Regions from separate parts of the Homo sapiens genome. Here region 1 is linked to region 2. Evidence: promoter capture Hi-C in 16 types of primary human blood cells and fetal thymus (Javierre and others, 2016). All regions are on one chromosome and are shown on one strand. Each heading gives the region's core, a stretch centred on a gene start or on the middle of the fragment in contact. The rest is flanking DNA. Distances are from core to core; before and after follow the strand shown.

Region 1 (4,773 bases), core at 339-2,838, 370 kb after region 2:
AGATTACAATCATGCTTTACCTCTGTATTTGTCAGCTGTCTAGCAGAGTGGTTCAGTGCCCAGGCACTGGTGTCAAACAGGCCTGGGTTTGAATCGCAGCTCTTCCTCACTCATAAATGTGTGACCTAGGCCAATTAGACTAAATCCAAGTTTTCCCTTCTGTATAATAGGGGTGCTCTTTTTTCTTGCTCTGTCACCAAGGCTGGAGTGTGATGGTGCAATCACAGCTCACTGCAGCCTGGACCTCCAAGGCTCAAGCGATCCTGCCACCTCAGCTGTGATTACAGGTGTGAGCCACTGTGCCCAGCTGGGGGTGCTCTTAGCTACTCCAGGAGGCTAATGTAAAGATAACACTTGGAAAATATTCTGCCAGCCCTAGGTAAGAGTAAGCATTCACTAAATGAAAGTGATTATTTCTATAGAATAGGGAGTCACAGTTTACCACGTGTTTTCACATTGATTTAATCCTCACACCAGCCCAGTGAAGTAGGTATTATTATGATCCACATTTTACAGATGAGGAAATTGAGGCCTAGAGCAGTGACGTGAGGGGACCAAAGTCGACTTGGAGCTAACAGAGGCAGCAAAGATTAGAAACCATGTCTCCAGTCGCCCAGACCCAGAGCCCCACCTTGCAACCCTCTTCCCACACACCAGTTCTGTTTTTTTTCTGCCAGGCCTCAAAGTGTGGGACTTCAGGCTTTTCTATACTCGACTGTGAACACAGCCAGGGGTTAATCTCTTAAACTTCCCTCCAGTTTTGAAGTGGGGATCCTGCCCACACCTCCCCCAAGCCCTAAGCGGTGTCGGTAGCGGTCTCCTCCAGGGGGCGGGGCCTGTCATCTTTAGAAGCCACGCCAGCGATAAGCCACGCCCACAGACCAAAGCCTCGACCCCCACCCCCCATCCCCCGCCCTCCCCGATAGGAAACCAACTTCTTCCTCAGCTCCCCAACTAGCAACTGTGCCCGCAAGGTCTCTCGCGGCTCAGCATCTACCTTTTTTTTTTTTTTTTTTTTTTGACACAGGGTTTCGCTCTGTCACCCAGGCTGGAGTGCAGTGGCGCGATCGCGGCTTACTGCAGCCTCGAGCTTCTGGGCTGTCATCTAGGCCTCCCAAAGTGTTGGGATTACAGGCGTGAGCCTCCACGCCCAGACGGTGTCTACCTCTTAAACTCAAGCCTTGGAGTCCAACGCTCTACCATACGCAGCCCAGCCCTCCGCCATATGCAGCCCAGCCCGATGCCCAGTGCTTCGCACCAGGATACGTGGTTCTGTCTCTTTTTCATGCGCTCCCACGTCCGGGAGTTACAGTCCCGGCCCTCGATGGGCATTCCGAGCGCCGAGCCCCCTGCGCGGGCTCACTGGGTTCCGCCCCCGACGCGAAGCCCCGCCCCCTGACGCCCCGCCCAGCACCACGCCTCCCGGGCTTTCGCCTTACTTAGTGGCCCGCCCCGCCGCCCTTCTGACCCACCCCGCTAGGTAGTCCCACACGGCGGCCCTCGGCTCCCGGGCCCCGCCCCGGCCTCCTGCATTTGCCCGAGGCCCCCTCCCCAGCACTGGCCACACCCCAGGGTAGCCCCGCCCCCAGAGCTCCTCCCCCAGCGGCCGGGGTAGGGTGGCGGCTGGCCCAGCCGGGCCCCCGCTGCCCTCTGCCCTGGGCGCTTGGTCGGAGCGGGCTGGGCAAAGCGGGACAGGGCGAGCGCGGCGGCCCGGGGGCTCGGAGGCGAAGATGGCGTCCGGCAGGCGCGCCCCGCGCACCGGGCTGCTGGAGCTGCGCGCCGGGGCGGGCTCGGGGGCCGGCGGCGAGCGATGGCAGCGGGTGCTGCTGAGTCTGGCGGAGGACGTGCTGACCGTGAGCCCCGCCGACGGCGACCCTGGTCCCGAGCCCGGCGCTCCGCGGGAGCAGGAGCCCGCGCAGCTCAACGGCGCCGCGGAGCCGGGCGCCGGGCCCCCGCAGCTGCCAGAGGCGCTACTGCTCCAGCGGCGCCGCGTGACGGTGCGCAAGGCCGACGCCGGTGGGCTGGGCATCAGCATCAAAGGTGGGCGCGGGACACCGAGGGCGCGGGGTCGTGGTGTCTGGGGGCAGCCGAGGGCGCAGGGGGCTGGCAGCGCGCCCAGGACATGGAGCTGGAGGCTTCCTGTCTGGGGGTAAGGGGGGTCTGAGGAAACAGGTAACGGAGGGCACTGGGCACACCAAGGTTGGAGGGGGTTTCAGTAGTTGGTGGCCTTAGGGGGCACGGAAGACACAGGTGTGGATAAGATTGTGGGAGCACCAAGGACACGTGGGTGGGAGTTCTGTGTGGAGGCGGGGGGGTCTGAGGGGTAACCAGCATGAACATCAAGGACAAGAGGGGTCCCCCGGAAAGCAGAGTGTGGAGAAAGGGGGTTGAGGCCGGGACACCAGTGGGACAGGGAGGAGGGAGTCCCTGAGAAGCAACCAAGGTGGGTGCAGAGGGGAAGCCTGGAGTCTGGGAAGCACAGGGGTGGATAGGAGGCCTGGGTGCAGGCACAGGCTGGGGTCACAGGCAGAAGGCCAGCAAGGACCTAGGAATCTAAGGACCCAGGAAGGCTGCAGGGAGCCCTGACAGCTGGATTTGGGTCTCCTGATCTGACTATCTCCACCTTGCACAGGATAGAGCTTTCAGCCCCCAGGACTGACCGCTAGTGGGGTGCAGTTAGGGTGCAACCAGACTGTGTTTGAATCCAGGATCAGCTGTGTGAGGTTGCAAAAGTCCCGTCCCGCCTCTGAATCTGTTTCCTCAACTGTATAAGAGGATGACAGAGTTGTGATGTTTCTGAGAGCAGGGCTCACCACACCAGCACACTGTAGGTGCCTAGTTAATTACTGCTGTTAGCGGAGAGGAAAAATGGAGGCCAGCAGATACTCCCAAAGCAACTAAACATAGTTGTTAAAATCCTTGCACACCCCCAGCTGCTGGGTTCACTATTCCTGCCCATCTGTTTCTCAGGGTCCCAGCCCCCAGCAGGTGCTTTGGGAAAGGGTATCAGCCTTTGTCTCCACCTTGAATACATACCGTACCCTCTGGGGTCTCCCTGGTACTGGTTCTGTTGACTAGTGCCTCCAGACCGTTTGGCTTGGCTGAGGCGGTGGGGATGGTGGTGAATGCCACCACTGTGTGCCAGGTGCTGTGCCCAGGACACTAGTCTCATGATCCACTTCATCCTGGCAACAAGTGGTGAAAGGTAGGGAGTATAATTCCCATATTGCAGGTGAAGAAACTGAGACTCAGAAAGTTAAAATGATTTTCCCACGATTACATAGTGAGTGTCAGTGCTGGGATTTGAACCTTAATTATCAGCTACTGTCCCTCAGAGAGTGCTCAGGGAAGTTGATTCTTTCCTGTAGAAGGGCAGATCCCCAGGCAGCCAACCAAGAGGGGCTAAAAAGGAGAAATGAGAAAATGAGGGTATGGGCACCAGTCTTACCCCCAATCTCCAGCATGGGATAGGGCAACAGATGAATCCAAAAATTATACACTCAGTGTGTCAAAGCAGGAAGGAACTTATTCATACAGAATTCCATTCTGCAGATGGACACACTGAGACTCAGAGAGGAGCAGGGACTTTGCAAGGTCACACAAAGTTACTCCCCAGCTCCATAATTCTAGGTGGAGGGGAGGGTACTTTTAGGAGACTTCAGGTATTTCCATTGGATCCAAATCTGGGCTCCTGTTGCCATGGTAACCCCTCCTATAAAGTCTAGCTTAGTCTGAGGCAGCCATGAGTGATCATAGCTTCAAACTGAACTGAAGCCCCTAGTTTCAGGTGGGGGAGGGCAGATATAAATAGAAACCCCTTCCTCTCCTAGACTTCAAGCTCTGTGCAGATAAGCAAACGGTCGGGCCTGTGTGGGCGTCAAGAGAGGTGTTCCAGTCCCAGCTCCGCCACCAGACTTGTGTGACCTTGGAACAATGACCTCCCACTCTGGGCCACTAATTCTTCATCTTCAGTATTCTGGGGATGAGCCAGGAGTGTGATATCTGAGGGCCTGACTTGTCGTCTGTGGTAGGGCTAATAGTGTTGGTTCTGGAGCCTGGAGGCCTAGGTGCAAATACTGGCTTCGCTACTTACTAGTGGAGTGACCTTGGACAAGGGGCTTCCCTCCACACTTCAGTTTCCCTAATAGGAAACTGAACATACCTATGTGATGGGGTATTGTAAAGACGCAATGAATCAACATTGAAAGCATTTAGCACAGTGCTTGGCATTTGGTAAGTGCAACTAAGGTGAACTCTTATTACTATTTCTTATTTTAAAAGGGCATTTAAGAGTTTGGTAATAAAGATGTTTAGTAAAATGTATTAGCTTCTTTTGTATCCAAGATGCCATTCAGGCAGGTTTTTAGAATCTCTAGACTCTAAGGCTTTGGTTTCCAGCCTGGACTTTGGATTGTAAAACATTATGATTGCTAAAGCAGTCTTTTGAGGCCATAGGAATAGCCGACTTGTCTCTTGATTCCGGTTTGAGGGGTATCAGTGGGTTCCCACATTGTTGCCTTTTTGTGTGTGTGTGTGAGACAGTCTTGCTCTGTTGCCCAGGGTGGAGTGCAGTGGTGCGATCTCGGCTCACTGCAATCTCCACCTCCTGGGTTCAAGCAGTTCTCGTGCCTCAGCCTCCTGAGTAGCTGGAATTATAGGCACACACCGCCATGCCTGGCTAATTTTTGTATTTTTGTTTTATTTTGAGATGGAGTCTTGTTCTGTCGCCCATGCTGGAGTGCAGTGGTGTGATCTTGGCTCACTGCAACCTCC
Region 2 (5,016 bases), core at 1,405-3,904:
CCCAGCACTTTGGGAGGCCGAGGCAGGCAGATCATGAGGTCAGGTGTTCAAGACCAGCCTGACCAACATGGTGAAACCCCATCTCTACTAAAAATACAAAAATTAGCCAGGCATGGTGGCGTGCACCTGTAATCCCAGCTACTCAGGAGGCTGACGCAGGAGAATCATTTGAACCCAGAAGGCAGAGGTTGCAGTGAGCTGAGATCGCACCACTGCACTCCAGCCTGGGCAACAGAGCGAGACTCCGTTTCAAAAACAAACAAACAAACAAACAAACAAAAAAACAAACTCCAGAAACTAAGCTAGCTCCAGACCAAAAGATCAGAGGAAAATGGTAAACTGACACCCTCCTCCTGCATTCCAAAATGCAGAAAGCTAAAAACACTGATTCTGATGACCATAAACAGAGGATCTGGACTGAGGGAGAGTCATCAGAGGAAAAAGCTAGAGACAGCAAAATATAACCCTGTTCCCATCTCCACAACTAAGCTGGAGTCCAAGCCACAAATGGACCACTGCAGCTGCCTCCTCACTGTTCTCCCTGCTCCCACCCGCATCCCCCACCCACTCTCCAAAGAGCAGCCAGATGATGTTTTAAAAACTCTGTCAATAAGGACACGTTCCAACAAAATACTCTCCAAAAACTTTCCATCCACTTGGAATAAAATTCAAACTCTTCACCAACAGGTTCAAAGTCCAAGCCCCGCCCCCTTTATTCCATACCACTCTCCCTCCAAGCACTACATTCTGGACACAAGGGTCTCTCTCTTCGGTTTCTTACAACCTGCTAACCTCCGAGCCTTTTCCCATGCTGCTTTCCACGCCCAGAAGGCTCCTCCCCCTTTTTTTTTTTTTTTTACAGAGCTGGTTCCTTCTCCAGACTCAGTTCAAACTTTACCTTTTCAAAGACGCCTTCCCTGACCATTCTATCCAAAGTGGCATCCCTCCCACTCCACCACTCCCTATCAGACCATCTTTTTGTGTGTTTAGTACTTATCACCCCCGGACAATATTTTCTTCATTTATTTTCCTGTTTCTGTCTTCTCTCCCATTAGGGTTGAGGCCGTGTTTTGTTCACCCCTATGAATACAGCGCATGCAGCAGGCACTAAAAAGAATTTCCAGAATATCTGTTGACTATCAGCAGAGAAGCATCCTCCAGATAGGCTATTTTGTTCTCCTATTAGAATGGAGAAAACATCGATTTAGCCCCTACTATGTGCTGAGCACTGTAAATCCATGATTTTCCTTTCAGAAAGGTAAATGAGCTCAAGGTCGCACTGCTAGTCACTAGCAGACTTCTGAGTGAATTACCTCAATCCTAAACCCCTCTCAAGGGGAAGGGATGTCGTTCTGTGATTCACTCTCACATGGCCATAACAAGAAAAAGCAAACATTTCTAAACTGCTTTACAGTTTTAAAGCATTTTCACATTCATCTCACTTAAGAAAAACACAAAGCACTTGGAATGCCCAGAAAGCCATACGACAACAGGAAGTAAAGTAAGCAGTGCCTCAAGATTCAATACTGGGGCCCTGAATCCTAGTAGTGGGGACTGGGGAGCAGTCGGGAGTCTCTATTTCTGGTTCAGACGGATGGGGAAGCGGTGAGTCATGGGGTGAAGGCTTGCGCCACGGGAAACTTTGGTAAGGTCAAGCTACGAGGCAACAAAAAGTGAATCACAACGCTGGAAAACACCTTAGGCCTCAACAGAGGCCGAACTCTGGCTGACGGATGGGGAAACTGAGGCCTCAAAGGGAAAGCAACTTGCTCAAGTTCACTCAGCAAGTGAATAGAGCAGGAATCGGGGGTCTCATCTCCCCCAGTCCCCTTTTCTCTCCAGCAAGGAGGCTTTTCAACGAGAATTCTGAGACAAGAGGACAGGGGAGAGGCCAAGGGGCAGCTCACAGATTCCACCGAGGAGTCGGGAGAGGGCACAGGTAGGACCAGGAAGCACAGAAATGCTAGGATGGGGGCAGAAATGAGCCGAGGAGGAGGCAGGGGCAGTAGCTAGGCAGGTGGGTGAGGCGAGAAGGAAAAGGCGGAAGAGAAAGGGACAGAGTGAGGGCGGAGGAAAGTGCTGTGAGATTGGGGTCTGAAGGGACCTGGCGGGGTGGAGAGAGGCTGAGGGGAGAGGGCAGAATAAGTCTGACGATGGAAAAGTCCAGGGATCGGGGAGACATTGAAGGGAGTCGGGGAGGGGGTCCCAGACCCGGCAAGAAGTCTGACCCGGAGAGTTCCAGGGTCAGACCAGACCCCGAGGCGAGTCTGATGAAGGTGAAGTCCGGGCCCGGGGAGCCTGGGGGGAGCCCGTGGCAAGTCTGAAGGGGCCGGGCAGCCTCACCGCGCTTGTTTTTGGTGCCGTGCTTCTTGGCGGCCGTCAGCTCCTGCTCGATTTTCTTCTCCAGGAACTCCTGTTTCTTGCTTAACATCTCTTCCGTGTCCCGCAGCCGCTGGATGGCCTCCTGGGGGGTCGGGCCGCCCTTGCCGGCCTTACCCCCTCCAGCCCCGAACAGCTTCCCGAACACCGACATGGTTGCTGCTCGCCGCGCCGGCCTTCGCCGCCCGCTCCGGCTCGGCTCGGCTCGGCTCGGCTCGGGTCGGCTCCGGCGCCCGCTCCCAGTCCCGCCGCTCCCTGCCGCCGCAGGCCTCTCCTCCGCCTCCGCCTCCGCCCCGCAGCTGGGCCCGGCCGCGCCACCTCCCACAGGCCCCCACGCCCGGCCCGGCAGGCGTCAGGGCAACGCGCCACTGACTACAACTCCCAGTGGGCAACGCGCCGGCCGCGCCTCAAATCTAATAGGGGGAAGCGTGCTGCATGCCGGGAAGCTATAGTCTTCCGGCTTCAGGCGCTCCCCGGCGCGTCTTTTGCTGTAGCTGGGGTCAAAGGGCGTGTGGCATTCTGGGAAATGTAGTCTCCTTGGCCTGCGCTCTGTAGGAGTGGCAGAACAGTAAGAGAAATGACAGTAAGTGTGCAACACTGCTCAAAAATTTATTGCTAGTATGGGATACTGCCATGCTTGAACTTCACATGTATATTCATGTGAAGTTGTCTTAAAAGCGTGAAGGCAACAGTTGTTTCCAATTTCAACCTGTCAATTCTGTGGTCACAGAAGCAAAGCAGTATCTTCTCCAGTTAAGTACGGTAGTGTCCCCCTTATCTGAGATTTTACTTTGAGTAGTTTCACTTGGCCAGCTAAGGTCTGACAGTATTAAATAGAAAATTCCAGAAATAAACAGTTCATAAGTTTTTAATTTCCATTGGCCTAATGAAATCTCGTGCTATCCTGTTCCATCCTACCTGCAATGTGAATCATCCCTTTGTCCAACATACCTCTACCATCTGTTAGTTACTTACCAGCTTAGGAGTTATCAGATGGACTGCCACGGTGTTGCAGTGCTTTGGTTCGAGTAACCCTCATTTTACTATATAATGGCCCCAAAGTGCAAGAGTAGTAATGCTGGCAGTTTGGATATGCCAAAATGAAGCTGTAAAGTGCTTCCTTTAAATGTAAATGTGGAAGTTCTGAGCTTAAGAAAAAAAATCGTATGCTGAGCTTACTGAGGTCTGCAGTAAGAACGAATCTTCTAGCCCTAGAATTGTGAAAGAGGAAAAAGAAATTCATGCTGGTTTTGCTGTCGTACCTCAAACTGCAAAAGTTACAGCCACAGTGTGTGATAAGTGCTTAGTTAAGATAGAAAAGGCATTAAGTTGTATCCTTACTTACAGGGGAAAAAAAGAAAATAAATTTTTTTACAAAAGAAAAGAAAAAGCATTAAGCTTATACGTGGAAGACACGAACAAAAAATGTGTTCCAACTGACAGCAACCTGTTACCCCCCAGAAAGCATTGAGCCTGTATAAAGGCTTCAGCAAGGAATCTCCTAAAACCAGTGGCACCAAGCCACTTACTGAAAGTAATGGATGGTTGCACTGACTTAGGAATAGGTTTAGACTGCAAAATATAAAAATTACTGGATGGGCTGGGCACAGTGGCTCACACCTGTAATCTCAGCACTCTGGCAGGCCTAGGCGGATGGATCACCTGAGGTCAGGAGTTTGAGACCAGCCTGGCCAACGTGGTGAAACCCCATCTCTACTAAAAATAAAAAATAAAAATAAAAAAATTAGCTGGGCGTGGTGGCGCACGCCTGTAATCCCAGCTACTTGGGAGGCTGAGGCAGGAGAATCACTTGAACCTGAGAGGCAGAGGTTGCAGTAAACTGAAATCGTGCTATTGCACTCCAGCCTGGGCGAAAAGAGCAAAATTCTGTCTCAAAAAGAAAAAAAAAATTACTGGAGCCGGGCGCGGTGGCTCACGCCTGTAATCCCAGCACTTTGGGAGGCCAAGGCGGGCGGATCACGAGGTCAGGAGATCGAGACCATCCTGGCTAACAAGGTGAAACCCCGTCTCTACTAAAAATACAAAAAATTAGCCTGGCATGGTGGCGGCGGGTGCCTGTAGTCCCAGCTACTCTGGAGGCTGAGGCAGGAGAATGGCGTGAACCCAGGAGGCAGAGCTTGCAGTGAGCCGAGATTGCGCCACTGCACTCCAGCCTGGGCGACAGAGAGAGACTCCGTGTCAAAAAAAAAAAAAAAAAAAAGGCCGGGCGCGGTGGCTCATGCCTGTAATCCCAGGACTTTGGGAGGCCGAGGCGGGCGGATCACGAGGTCAGGAGATCAAGATCATCCTGGCTAACACGGTGAAACTCCATCTCTACTAAAAATACAAAAAAATTAGCCAGGCATGGTGGCACGCGCCTGTAGTCCCAGCTACTCAGGAGGCTGAGGCAGGAGAATGGCGTGAACCCGGGAGGCAGAGCTGGCAGTGAGCCGAGATGGCACCACTGCACTCCAGCCTGGGCAACAGAGCGAGGCTCCGTGTCAAAAAAAAAAAAAAAAGTTACTGGAGGTTGGGTGCGGTGACTCACGCCTGTAATTCCAGCATTTTGGGAGACCAAGGCAGGTGGATCGCTTGAGCCCAGGAGTTGAGGCCAGCCTGGGCAACATGGCGAAACCC

Evidence for each region. The method cuts DNA at HindIII sites, captures the fragments that hold promoters and counts their contacts. A CHiCAGO score of 5 or more calls a contact.
Region 1: a contact is called between the fragment with the promoter of SNTA1 here and the fragment with the promoter of CHMP4B in region 2, in 2 of 17 cell types (monocytes and total CD8 T cells). The highest score is 5.1, in monocytes.

The regions. Positions count from the first base shown.
Region 1 is chr20:33,440,578-33,445,350 of GRCh38, reverse strand. SNTA1 (syntrophin alpha 1) reads left to right here and starts at 1,588. Exons shown (of 8, transcript NM_003098.3): 1 at 1,588-2,040. The coding sequence starts at 1,731. RefSeq lists enhancers at 583-642, 614-1,114, 1,093-1,162 and silencers at 1,393-1,872, 1,983-2,042. The HindIII fragment of the contact is 9,847 bases long and covers 1-4,773 here.
Region 2 is chr20:33,808,986-33,814,001 of GRCh38, reverse strand. CHMP4B (charged multivesicular body protein 4B) reads right to left here and starts at 2,654. Exons shown (of 5, transcript NM_176812.5): 1 at 2,344-2,654. The coding sequence starts at 2,533. It overlaps ZNF341-AS1 (ZNF341 antisense RNA 1), which reads left to right and starts at 2,903. Exons shown (of 4, transcript NR_110623.1): 1 at 2,903-2,962. RefSeq lists enhancers at 1,361-1,430, 1,259-2,099, 2,866-2,945, 2,685-2,979 and a silencer at 2,526-2,805. The HindIII fragment of the contact is 5,812 bases long and covers 1-3,779 here.